3 separate regions of the Homo sapiens genome follow, and regions 2 and 3 are each linked to region 1. The links are contacts of gene promoters, found by promoter capture Hi-C in human tissues and cell types (Jung and others, 2019). All regions are on one chromosome and are shown on one strand. The core of a region is centred on a gene start or on the middle of the fragment in contact, and the rest is flanking DNA. Distances in the headings are between cores, read along the strand shown. Region 1 holds the start of RUFY1 (RUN and FYVE domain containing 1). Region 2 holds the start of HNRNPAB (heterogeneous nuclear ribonucleoprotein A/B). Region 3 overlaps COL23A1 (collagen type XXIII alpha 1 chain).

Region 1 (4,339 bases), core at 1,268-3,767:
CTGCTCACAAAGATTCCCAGTTGTGGTTTTCCCAGACAGAAATAGGTCTGAACTTCCCAACTCCCTAGAAATTAAACGTGGCCATGTGATTTGCTTTCACCAATGAAATGTGCATAAGTGACCTTTGTCATGCAGGACTGGAGCATGTAATATTTATGCAAAACTCCCAACAGGCTGGGTCCTGAGAGACTACAATGAGTTGGGCAGAGTACTCACCCCATCTACATTGACATGTAGCATGATGAGAAACCAGCTTTTAGGTTAAGCCATTGAGATTTGGGGGTTGTTACTGAAGAATAACCTTGCCTGATAAATGTTGAAACTGTTCCCCCAAAAAAGAGTTAATGTTTTTATACAAAATGGAATTCGGTTCCACGCCCTGATCATTATAAACAAACTTTTCACCTACATAAATGTCCAGTAGCATTGGAAAGTCATGAAGGATTCGGGACAATGCTGTTATTCTAGACTATCTTCATCCCTGTCTATGCATCCAGTAAAGACTAGTAGGGCCGGGCTCAGTGGCTCACGCCTGTAATCTCAACACTTTGAGAGGCCGAGGCGGGGGAATCACGAGGTCGAGAGATCGAGACTATCCTGGCGAACATGGTGAAACCCCGTCTCTACTAAAAGTACAAAAATTAGCCAAGTGTGGCGCCACGCCCCTGCAGTCCCAGCTACTTGGGAGGCTGAGGCAGGAAAATCGCTTGAACCCGGTAGGCAGAGGTTACAGTGAGCCGAGATTGCGCCACTGCACTCCAGCTTGGTGACAGAGCAGGACTTGGCCTCAAAAACAAACAAACAAACAAGACCAGGCCGGGCGTGGTGGCTCACGCCTCTAATCCCAGCACTTTGGGAGGCCGAGGCTGGCGGATCACGAGGTCAGGAGATCAAGACCATCCTGGCTAACACGGTGAAACCCCGTTTCTACTAAAAATACAAAAAAAAAAAAAAATTAGCCGGGCGTGGTGGCGGGCACCTGTAGTCCCAGCTACTCGGGAGGCTGAGGCAGGAGAATGGCGTGAACCCGGGAGGTGGAGCTTGCAGTGAACCGAGATCGCGCCACTGCACTCCAGCCTGGGCGACTGAGCGAGACTCCGTACGAAAACAAACAAACAAAAAAGACTGGTAGTATGCCCTCAGTCATTACACAACTCAAACACCAACTCCACAAATTCCCAAAACACTCCTAGATGAAGTGGTATCCCTTCACTGAGAACTGGCCTTTCAGGGACCAGACATATCATGCAACCTAGTGAAGTGGGCTGGACCAAGACAGGTCCAGGGAGCAGCTGGGCGTCTAAAGGGGCAGCACAGTTTATTCCCAACAGTTTGTTGCCATCTGGGAATATGCCATGAGTTACCAAATATTCCAGTGATTCCAGAGAAAGCTAAAATCCAGATTCTTATGTGAAATCTTTTGATTTCTAAATATTGGCAACAAGTTTTAAGATTTGTAAACATTCTGGGAATCAAAACAGCTCTGCTGGTTTGGTGTGGCTCATGTTGCCTCACTTTGCAAAGTGTTAAGTGCTAGTAAATTTTAGTGTTTTTTCTGAGACAGGGTCTCACTTTGTCGCCCAGCCTGGAGTGCAGTGGCCATGATCTCCGCTCACTGTGGGATCGACCTCCCGGGCTCAAGCGATCCTCCCACTCTCAGCCCCCCAAGGAGCTAGGAGTAGAGCTGTCCCGCCACGACATCTGGCTGGTTTTTTGTTGTTGTTGTTGTTGTTGTTTTGGTATTTTAGTAGAGACGGGGTTTCGTCCTACTAAAGGCCCGCCTGGGCCTTCCGAAGTGCTGGGATTACAGGCGTGAGCCACCGCGCCCGGCCAAAATTTTCCTTTGTACTTACTCAAATTCCTTTCTTTTCCAAGTGAAGAAACAGACTGAGTGTATAGTGACTTACCCAGGCCACACAGTTGGATACCAGAGATAGTAGTCACAATCGCTAACATCTGCCATGTGGTCCTTACTGCAAATCTTATTTAATAATGAGGTCGGTTTTTGTTATCCCACTTAACTAATCAATAGGAGAAGCCACCTCTGATTTCCAGTCCACTATCGTGCACTCTTTCTTGCCAAGCCGTCATAGTCATTAGATTAAAAAAAAAAAAAAATTCCTGCTTTCCTGCCTCGCCTGTGCGTTTCCTTAGTCGCCCTTTCGGGGCTTGTTCTAATGAGTGCTACAGAAAAATGACGAAGTGGAAAATATAGACCATGAAATGAAAATTTAAAAGAGGAAATGGTGTCACAAAGACAACGACGGCCAGGGAACCCCGTGAAGCGCCGGGCAGGGTGCACAACTGTCCTCGGAGAAAGTTCAAGAGGAACTTCCCCGCGAACAGGTCCTGCCGGCGGCCGGGAATACGCACACTTTTTATGTTATGACTTGGACTTTCCCGAACCTTTCGAAACAGAGGGAAGGCGAGGCGGTGAAGAGGGAGAAAAATCTCCCCCACCTAAGGCAAAGGCGATGCCCGCCCGCCCCCACCCCGCGCCCGCCCGCCCGCTGGGTCACATGACACGGCCAAGATGGCCGACCGGGAAGGCGGCTGCGCTGCTGGGCGGGGGCGGGAGCTGGAGCCGGAGCTGGAGCCGGGGCCGGGGCCCGGGTCAGCGCTTGAGCCGGGAGAAGAGTTTGAGATCGTGGACCGAAGCCAGCTGCCCGGCCCAGGCGACCTGCGGAGCGCAACGAGGCCGCGGGCGGCCGAGGGCTGGTCGGCGCCCATCCTGACCCTGGCACGCAGGGCCACCGGGAACCTGTCGGCGAGCTGCGGGAGCGCGCTGCGCGCGGCCGCGGGGCTGGGCGGCGGGGACAGCGGGGACGGCACGGCGCGCGCAGGTAGGCTCGGGCCGGGTCTGTCCCGCGGCGGACTCGCGTGTCCCCGCTGGCCGCCGGCGCGGGCGCGGTGGGGGCCGGGCTGGGAGGGCACTGGCCGTTCCGGGAGGTTACGCGAGCTGTTGGCGGGCGGGCGGCGCCTGGCTGCGCCTGGGTCTTTACTCCGGCGGCCCAGCCGAGACCGCCCCCCGCAGCCCCGCGTGCCTGAGCGCGCTCCCGCACCCGCGCCTCTATGCTCTCCCACTAACTAGGTGAAGGACGTGTGCGCGTCCGGGCTTCGGAACTCTGTAGTAACTCCACACACGAAACGGAGCCAGCACTGTTCTGCTTTTCAGCCGTTCAGTGCGGGAGTGGAGCGCCGGCGGGTGTTGGGAGGGCGTGGGCCCTGCGCGCAGCGGACCAGCGGCGCCTCCGCTCACCTCTGCCTGTGAGATGGGGATTTTAAAGTCACCCGATGATCTCTTAAAGACCTTTTCAGCCCTTGTAATGAACAGAGTGCCAGCATATCAGTGATAGTAAGAGTTAAGTAACTTAGCCCTCTAACGCCAGACATCCAGAGCTGTGCTATCCAATACAACAGCACGCATATGTTTTTGTGTGTGTGTTTTTGTTTTTATTTATTTTTATTTTTTTGAGACCGGGTCTTGCTCTGTCGCCCAGGCTGGAGTGCAGTGGTGCGATCTCGGCTCACTGCACCCTCTGCCTCCCGGGTTCAAGCGATCCTCCCTCCCGCCTCAGCCTCCCGAGTAGCTGGGATTACAGGTGCCCACCACCACGCTCGGCTAAGTTCCCCGCCCCCACCCCCCTCCCATATTTTTAGTAGAAACGGGGTTTCACCATCTTGGCCAGGCTGGTCTTGAACTCCTGACCTTGTGATACACCTGCCTCGGCCTCGTAAAGTACTGGGACTACAGGCTTGAGCCACCGCGCCCGGCCGGATTCCTCAATTTCTAACTGAATCAATTGAAATTCAGTACTTTTAAATTGAATTAAAAATTGAGTTCCTCGGCCGGGAGCGGTGGCTCACGCCTGTAATCCCAGCACTTTGGGAGGCCGAAGCGGGTGGATCACGAGGTCAAGAGATCGAGACCATCCTGGCCAACATGGTGAAACCCCGTCTCTACTAAAAATACAAAAAATTAGCTGGGTGTGTTGGCATGCACCTGTAGTCCCAGCTACTCAGGAGGCTGAGGCAGGAGAATCGCTTGAACCTGGGAGGCAGAGGTTGCAGTGAGCCGAGATCGCGCCACTGCACTCCAGCCTGGGTGACAGAGCGAGACTCTGTCTCAAAAAAAAAAAAAAAAAAAAAAACTTGTTCCTCGATTACAGCGGCCACATTTTAAATGCTCAGTAGCCTGTGTGTGGCCAGTGGCTACTGTATGAGATAGCACATAATAGAACATTGCCAACTTCATAGAAAATGCTGGGACAGAGCTGAGGAAAGGTTGTGGTGCCTTCCAAGGAGCATCATAGCACACACTCGAGGCTTCCTGATTCCT
Region 2 (4,339 bases), core at 1,166-3,665, 1.3 Mb before region 1:
TGACTTCCTGTTATGGAATTAGCCTGGGACAGTGAAGAGTGGCCTTGGGGTGAACCAGAGGGCACTTGCCCACCTGGGTATGGGTATCCCAGCTGCACTTGATTGTTACTTTGGGGGAAGGCAGTACAGTGTGAGCTAAATCTTCGGACTTTCCTAGAGAAGCCTGAAATCCACGTATCTTCATTTTTCATTCTCAGGGCAACTCCAGTGCCTGGGTGGAGTTAGTGCCTGAGTTGGTTGTGTAGCTTTGGGCCGCTGCTCTTGACTTCAGTTTTCTCATTTAAAATTGGTGATCCACCTGAGATCAGGAGTTCAAGACCAGCCTGGTCAACATGGTAAAACCCCATCTCTACTAAAAATACAAAAATTAGCCCGGCATGGTGGAACACACCTGCAATCCCAGCTACTCAGGAGGCTGAGGCAGGAGAATCGCTAGAACCTGGGAGGTGGAGGTTGCTGTGAGCTGAGATGGCTCCACTGTACTCCAGCCTGGGCGACAGAGCGAGACCCCCGTCTCAAAGAAAAAAAAAACCTGGTGATCTAGCTGGGCAACATAGGGAGACCCTGTGTTTACAAAAAATTCGCTTGGCGTGGTGGCCACGTTTCTGGTTCCAGCTACTTGGGAGGCTGAGGCAGGAGGCTCATTTGAGCCCGGGAGGTTGAAGCTGCAGTAAGCCGTGATCGTGCCACTGGACTCCAGCCTGGGTTACAGAACAAAACCTTGTGTCAAAAAATAAAATAAATAAAATTGGTGACCATACCACCTTACTTTGGTTGTTAAGATACAGAAGAGAAAATGGAATGCCCAGCCCACCACACTGGTCCTGGCTGCAGGAATCCACTGGAAACGCTAGTTCCTTGTGTTCTGGGTTGCTATTTGGTAACCTGCAGGCTCCAGAGGTTGTAATCCTGCTTGCCTTGGGGCCCACCACCCATATGATTAAAAGGAATAACGGGATTACCGAGGCCTTTAAAATTTTGTGGTCAAGGAGATAATATAAAGGAGTTTTGTGTATTAGGAAGAGAACAACGCCCCCACCCTGTCCTTTACCTCGTGAGTTCACGAGTGGTGTATTTGTTTTGTTTTGTTTTTGAGACGATGTCTCGCTCTGTCGCCCAGGCTGGAGTGCAGTGGCGAGATCTCGGCTCACTGCAAGCTCCGCCTCCCGGGTTCACGCCATTCTCCTGCCTCAGCCTCCCGGTAACTGGGACTACAGGCGCCCACCACCACGCCCGGCTAATTTTTTTGTATTTTTAGTAGAGACGGGGTTTCACCATGTTCGCCAGGATGGTCTCGATCTCCTGACCTCGTGATCCGCCCGCCTGGACCTCCCAAAGTGCTGGGAGTACAGGCGGGAGCCACCGCGCCCGGCCTCCGTATTTGTTTAAAAAAAAAAAAAAAAAAAAAAAGGCCGGGCGCGGTGGCTCACGCCTGTAATCCCAGTACTTTGGGAGGCCCAGGCGGGCGGATCACGAGGTCAGGAGATCGAGACCATCCTGGCCAACATGGTGAAACCCCGTCTCTACTAAAAAAACAAAAAAATTAGCCGGGCGTGGTGGCGCATGCCTGTAATCCCAGCTACTCGGGAGGCTGAGACAGGAGAATCGCTTGAACCCGGGAGGCGGAGGTTGCGGTGAGCCGAGATCGCGCCATTGCACTCCAGTCTGGGCGACAAGAGCAAGACTCCATCAAAAAAAAAAAAATAATAAAAAGGAAGAAAAAGAAAGACAAATGATTTACAGGAAAAAATTTAAGTAAACAAAAGTACAAATGCGATGTCAATCGTTCAGGTGGTGCCAGGGGACAGAGAACCGGGGAACACCAAGGTCTCATCGTCCCTGCAGAGCATCTCTGGGGGAGGCGACGGACAGGGCGCGAGCGCGGGGCTTGGAGGGCACCAAGGTCCAGGGGGATGGCGGGTTCAGTCCCAATCCCTCCGACCCGTGCTGAGGGCCTTGGAGGACCCCACTCGCCCAACCTCGGAAGCCCGGGTTCTGCCACTTCCAGCCACGCGTCCTTGGGCTGCGAAACTTTCTCCAGCCCAGTTTCCTCTTTTGGGACATGGGGAGGCGGAGGCTGCCAATGCTGGGATGGAGTCCTCGAGAGCAAGAGACCAGCGGCCTCGACGAGCTTACAATCCGATTAGGCCCTCCCACCGATGTGCTGTAGCTGCCCGCCGCCCTGGACCCGGCGCCGTCCCGCCCGGCTTCGGGAGCCCTCCGTAGCGGCCGGACTCGCGCGCGTTCTAAAATGAGGACAAAGCCCGCCCAGGTCTAGAGCGCGCGCGCCGTGGCGGCCAATGGGACGCTGAAGCTAGGTTGAGTGACGGACTTGAGCAGCCAATGAGTGTGCAGTTTGTTGCGATGTGGCACCCGGCTCCGGCATTATAAAGGGCGCCACGAGTCGGCATTGTCAGGCGGCGGCACCGCGCGGGACGGAGCTTGGCTGTTGGTCGGTGGGTTCCCGTGCGGCGGCGGCCAAGGAGGAGGAGACACAGTTGGAGCAGCTCCGTGGGCTGACTGGGGCGAGGCCTCAGCAGCGCGAGCTTGAGTGCGGCCGAGCCTGCGGCGCCTTCCCCTGCGGGTGGGGACGAGCGGGCCCCGCGGCGTCATCGGCGGCGAGGTGAGCGGCGGCCGGCGGGCGGGAGCTCTGGCGGGAGCCGCGCCGGCCTGACGCGCTGTCGCCGCTGGTTGCAGGAGCCGCCGCGCCTCGGCCTAGCATGTCGGAAGCGGGCGAGGAGCAGCCCATGGAGACGACGGGCGCCACCGAGAACGGACATGAGGCCGTCCCCGAAGGCGAGTCGCCGGCCGGGGCTGGCACGGGCGCCGCGGCGGGGGCTGGAGGCGCGACCGCGGCGCCCCCGAGCGGGAATCAGAACGGCGCCGAGGGCGACCAGATCAACGCCAGCAAGAACGAGGAGGACGCGGGGTAGGTGCGGCCGCGGGCGGACGGGGGCGCCGCCTTTGTTCCGGGGCCGCCTTTTGTTGGCGCCACGCGGCGGGGGGAGGGGCGGCGGCCTGGCCCGGGTCGGGGCTGGTGCGGCCCGCGGACTGTCGCCGCTGCGTTCGCGGGCCGGGCCTGGCGCTGCCACTCGCGCTGGAGTTTGCGGGAGTTTGTTGGGTCGACTTTGGCGCCGCCCCGGGGCCGCTCGCGCGCTGCCAGGGCCAGGGCCAGGGCCGGAGCCGGCGCAGGGGCGGGCGGATGGCCCGGAAGAGGGAAAGCGCTCGGACCCGGGGCCCGGCGGCGTCTTGGGCCGCGCCGGCGGCTGCGTGGGCGGAGTTGGCGCGAGCCGGGGCCCGGACCTCCCTCCTCCGCCTCTCCCGGGGGCGGAGTCACGGTCTGAACCCTGGGCGGGCTTGGTCCCCGGAAACATCGAGTTCCTTGAAACGAGTTCTCAGGAGTTGGTGGAGACGCTGGCCCTTTGCTACATGGTTGTAGAACACATGAATTTCCAGTTATGAGTGGTTAGGTCCCATACCCCTGGTGAGGTGGTCCCTTCTTTGCTTCTCACAGGCTGGGGCTGCAGAGCCTTGTTAAGCCTCGTTAGGGTCCTGGTTGAGTTCAATTTGGAGGGTAGTGGAGATTTAACATCTTTCTAAGGTGCTCCTTGCAGACTCTAAGGGTAGCTGTAGACTTCGTGAGAACTTTGCCAGGGCCAGTCCTTTCCAAAATCACAGCTTGCTTACAAGACTTGTTGCCGTGTGTCTCACCCTACCATTTCAGAAAAATGTTCGTTGGTGGCCTGAGCTGGGATACTAGCAAAAAAGATTTAAAAGACTATTTTACTAAATTTGGAGAGGTCGTTGACTGTACAATAAAAATGGATCCCAACACTGGACGGTCAAGAGGGTTTGGGTTTATCCTGTTCAAAGATGCAGCCAGTGTGGAGAAGGTAAGCTGGGTACTGGATTTCAGCAGTCTCAGTGGAAACGATTTGAATTCTAAGAGGACACCTTTCTTAAAGCATGACTAGTTTGTGTGGTCTGCATGTGATTTAAGTGCTTTGGGCAAAACCCAAAGCCGGAGGTTATGTTCCGGTTTTTGAGGGGATGAAAATACAGATTAAGCTGGGAGTGAGAGAATGTGCTGGAGTGGTTCGGGAAGATGACAGTTGACATTCATTACCTTTTATGTGCCTATTCTGGGTACGGCGCTAAACATCTGGGAGGATTACAAGAGAGTCCATGATTGGTATGATAGGCTTTTAGCCCCATTTTACAGGACAAAAACCAAAACCCTAAGGCTCAGAAATGTAAGTAGAAGAGGTCACAGCTAGTAGGGAGTGGAGGGAGGATTCCTTCCCCTGTGGCCCATCTTCAGCCTATGCTCCGAGTCCCT
Region 3 (4,339 bases), core at 601-3,100, 1.3 Mb before region 1:
TTTTTTTTGAGACATGGTCTCGCTCTGCTCTGTCACCCAGGTTGGAGTGCAGTGGCGTAATCTTGGCTCACTGCAACCTCTGCCTCCTGGGTTCAAGTGATTCTCCTGCCTCAGCCTCCCAAGTAGCTGGGACTACAGGCATGTACCACCACACCTGGCTAGTTTTTGTATTTTTATTTTTATTTTTTTTGGTAGAGACAGGGTTTCACCGTATTGGCCAGGCTGATCTTGAACTCCTGACCTCAAGTGATCCATCCGCCTTGGCCTCCAAAAGTGCTGGGATTACAGGCGTGAGCCACCGCGCCCGGCCGGGACAAGTGATTTCTATAAACACAGAGTCAAGTTCCATCCCCCAGCCCTCGCCTCTGTCTTGGTTCTACTTGGTGCAGCTCTGGGAGCTTCTTTGGCTTCACTTCCTATCGTTTCCTGTCACCTGCTCACTCACTCCTGCCACACTGACCTTGAGTGTACCTGAACACACAAAGCTTGCTCCAACTTCATGACCTGTGCACTTGCTTTTTCCTCTGCCGGGATCTCCCCCAAGATCTCTGCAGCTTTTTCATCATTTAAATCTCACTTCAATGTTACTTTCCTCAAGAACCTTCTGATTATTTAATCCAAATTATACCTGTCCATTCACCCAGCCAACACTCTCATCACATCCTTGTTTTATTCTCTTGTAAGTACATTAAATGATATCGAAGAAATGTTTAAATAGCTTTCTGAATGTGTAAAACAAACCAGAAAGTCACTAAAGCTTAATGTTAAGAGTTAAGACAATCAAACTACCAAAGAAGAGGAAAAGCAAACATTGTGACATTGTAAATAGGAGATGATGAGAAAGTCTAATGTTTTCTGTGTAAGTCAAAGTTCAGGCAAGATTAAGCCCTGCATGAGTGACAGGTGGTTTCATCTTAGTCAGATGCCACAGTTTAGAGAGGAAAAAGCGCTCATGATAAACAAGATACCTCCGGGAAGATGACATTGAGCTTCTAATTATTCATTCCTCTCTATCCCAGGGCAAACTCCCATTCCCATATGGTTCTCTAAAGACTGTGACTGGGCCTGATCCATCTTTGTGCCACCCCAGTGCCCAGGCCAGGGTATGACACCCACCAGATTTGTTGAACACAGCCAAGCCTCCTATTTCTGAGATGGGCAAATCACTTTATCCACATAAATACTGATTACTACCCCAAAATGCAAGAGTGCCGTGCCTAGGGCTCCTCTGAAGGCTCAACTTTTGATCCACAATGTTCTGAGTTAGGAATTATCCCTATGCTGTTGATTCTATGATGTCTTCCGTCCCTGGACCAGTTGGGATCCAAAAGCTCTTAAACACGGGTGATTTCCTCTTTAAACTCTATGCCTGCAATTCCAACCTTTACCACGAGGTGACAGGATTACACAAACCTTATCAAAACTAGTTTAATCTCTGACTAGTTCTAATTAAAATATGCCCTAAATTAAAACAATATTCATACATATATGTATATATTTTAAAACTTATATTGGCATAGCTTTAAAAGTGTAATACCCACAGTTGGCCAGCATTTGGGGAAATAGACAGCATTTATTCATTGTTGGTGGGAATGTAAATTAGTACAGTCTCCTGGAGGGCAATTTGGCAATACACATCAAAAGCCTTACACATGTGCAAACCCTTTGGTGCAGCAATTCCACTTTTAGTCATTTATTCTAAGGAGATAATCATGGAAATAAGCTATATTTATTCCCAGGATGTTGACTGTAAGGGTGAAAAATTGTCAATATAAATAATTTAACTTTGAGACTAAATAAATGATATATCGGATCAAATACAATGTAGCCATTACATTCTCTAAGGATTTTTAATGATGCAGAAAAGTCTCATGCTATATTTAGTGAAAAAAATAGTACAAAAAAGTATGTCCAATGTAATTGTATTTTAGATTATGAGACTGACGTGCTGCCCACTGCACTAAGAAGGCACTTGTAATTCTATTTTTAAAGCAATAAATATAAAAGCAAACTTGGATATAAGAAATACTAGAACCACCACCAAGATAAGAGGACTTATCTGTGAGTGGCAGAATTAGAGATGCTTTTTCCTTGTGTTTTTCTCCATTGTCCAAATGTTTTACAATAAACATGCTTTTTGTTGTAATCAGAAGAGGCTGTTAATGCATCCTCGGGAGCAGAGAGGACAGGCCAGCCTCTGTACACGGAGGGCATGGACAGGGCGAGCCGGGCCCTTGTCGGCTCTGACTTCCTCAAGTCCACAACCTGCCCCACAGATGTGGGTGGCCCCTATGCCCCGTGTCCTCCAGCCACTCCTATCAGGTCCACACATGGACCTGGTTTCAGCTGAGGCAGCTGGCCTGAGTTAATCCAGAAAAGCACCGACAGTCTCCACCACCAGAGTCTCCTGCCAGACTCTATCCTTGCTCTTAGAAAGTGATAAGATATTGGCACAAAGAGAAAAAAGTAAGTCCTCCCTGAGGCTGGTCCTGAAGTTTACTAAGCTACAAAAAAACACAAAAAACAAACAAACAAAACAAAAAACCAAAAAATGCTTTTTCTAAAACCGACCATTCTCAAAGGTGTTTTTCTTTCCAAATATTGCAAATTTATACTGAGTAGGTTAGAATGATTTCTGAAACCCATCTTTTCTTCTATTGAGACTGTCAACGATGAGGAAAGACAGTGATATTTATAGAAGGGCTGCCACACACAGGACTGGAAATGGCCTCTGTGTCTCACACTCAGTTAACCCCGCTCTGCAGGTGTGATCTCCCCAGGCCCAAGTAGCCTGCCCAAGTCCACACAGGTGACTGACTCAAAGCCACGGTGATCCTCTGCACATGAGGGGCCTCCGAGGTGGCCCAGGCCCTTCAGCACGAGGCAGTCACCCCAGCCTCTGGGATGACCACATGGAGCCATCTGCAAATATACCCCAGGCTGAGAGCCGGGCAGAGCCCTCCTGTCCTCCACAGGCCAAGAGATAGGAATTTCCACTCAGGACTGGGCCCCAGGAGCCTGCGAAAGGTCCTCCCCTTCCTCGAATGGGGAAGCTGAGCGGGGTGTCTGCCCCACCCTGTGGGTCTCACGGAAGGAGTGGCCCAGGTGGTGGTGTGAGAACGAGGGGTCTGGAGGCACACAGCTGGTCTTGCTCCTGGTGCTGGCGACGTGAACGCCCTGAATCCAGCCCACCCAGGGAAGACGCCTACCTCCGTGTGGAAATGGGGGTCTGTGTGTAAGCTGGGGCTGGGCGACCTCAGGAAGAAGGCCATCATGGGCTGTGATACCAGCTTCCTGGAGACGTTGACAGGGTGCCCTCATCCCTCACCAGGCCCAGCCTGCTCAGGCCTCCCAGTGACTGGGGAGCTGCTGGTAGGACCAGGGGCACGGCTGCCAGAGCTGCCTACACAGAGGAAGTGGGGGGGCTTGCTGGACCCCAGCTCTCTTCCTTCCAAGAAAGCTCCCAGTGTCAAGCCTGAGGGACGCCCGCGGGGCTCCACACACATCCTTCTCTCCGTTCCCAGCCCCGACAGTCACAGCGCCCCTTCTCCAGGCCAGGCCCAGGTGTGAGGGAGCCCGATACCACCCCCACACTCAGCTTCGTCTTTAATTCCCGACAGTCCTGTCATGGCCCCAGGGACAGCAGCCCCGGGTTTGGCCTGGCTCGCGTTCTGGGTGCTCTAAGCCAAGGGGCTTTCCTTTCCCCAGGCTTCACAGCGAGTGAGCTGCAGAGATGAGAGCCACGCCCAGCTACTCCATCCGCACCCAGCCTCCTGCCTGTCGGCCACAGGGCCAGCTGCCGGCACCCAACTGGGTCCTGGGAGGAAGGAGTGAGGGAGAAGAGGCCTCTGTGGGACGCAGACCCTGGCACCTGCTCTGGTGTGGCTGAGAACAAGCCCCCTGCCCCTCCCCCGGGGCAGCAGGCAGCATCCTCTCCGATGCTCGAGGCTGGTGGGGAACGGACCGGACCGCTGGGTCACTTTGCTCAGAGGAAACAATGGAGAAGAGGGGGAGGAAACCACTCATCTACACCCCACCCTCTCCCCTCTGGACCTGTGAATACAGAGTAACCCGGGGTGAAGGGAACTGCGTCATGCCAGGAGTGGTTCTGTTAGTCTCCGGTCCTCCCGAGCCGGTACTGGTACAGCGAATAATGCCAAGATGCGGGGCTGAACTTTCCAGCGAAAGCCTGTGCTTCCCCAAGATGCTGGACGCCCAAAGGTCCGGGCTGCCGTGTGCAGGAGACGGGAGCCTGACCCTTGCCTAATCAGAAGAGCAGCTGGGGACTGCGGCAGGGCCCTAACCCCAGGTGTGCCATGGGATGAGGGTGGGTCCCAGC

The links. The method cuts DNA at HindIII sites, captures the fragments that hold promoters and counts their contacts. A contact is called where the count stands out against the background at its distance.
Region 2: the fragment with the promoter of HNRNPAB here is called in contact with the fragment with the promoter of RUFY1 in region 1 in 1 of the 25 tissues and cell types used here (dorsolateral prefrontal cortex).
Region 3: a contact is called between a fragment that was not itself captured here and the fragment with the promoter of RUFY1 in region 1, in 1 of the 25 tissues and cell types used here (lymphoblastoid cells).

The regions. Positions count from the first base shown.
Region 1 is chr5:179,548,037-179,552,375 of GRCh38, forward strand. RUFY1 (RUN and FYVE domain containing 1) reads left to right here and starts at 2,518. Exons shown (of 18, transcript NM_025158.5): 1 at 2,518-2,843. The coding sequence starts at 2,534. The region is part of intron 4 of LOC128966623 (a long non-coding RNA gene); the gene reads left to right. It overlaps LOC105377762 (a long non-coding RNA gene), which reads right to left and starts at 2,468. Exons shown (of 4, transcript XR_941315.4): 1 at 1,908-2,468. RefSeq lists a silencer at 2,443-3,152. The HindIII fragment of the contact is 12,755 bases long and covers 1-4,339 here.
Region 2 is chr5:178,202,118-178,206,456 of GRCh38, forward strand. HNRNPAB (heterogeneous nuclear ribonucleoprotein A/B) reads left to right here and starts at 2,416. Exons shown (of 8, transcript NM_031266.3): 1 at 2,416-2,623; 2 at 2,698-2,929; 3 at 3,725-3,893. The coding sequence starts at 2,721. RefSeq lists silencers at 2,230-2,299, 2,600-2,819, 2,840-2,949, 2,980-3,389. The HindIII fragment of the contact is 21,768 bases long and covers 1-4,339 here.
Region 3 is chr5:178,282,876-178,287,214 of GRCh38, forward strand. The region is part of intron 5 of COL23A1 (collagen type XXIII alpha 1 chain); the gene reads right to left. Among named protein-coding and RNA genes, the nearest start is that of PHYKPL, 52 kb to the left of the region's middle. RefSeq lists enhancers at 3,217-3,762, 3,763-4,306, 4,307-4,339. The HindIII fragment of the contact is 7,014 bases long and covers 1-4,339 here.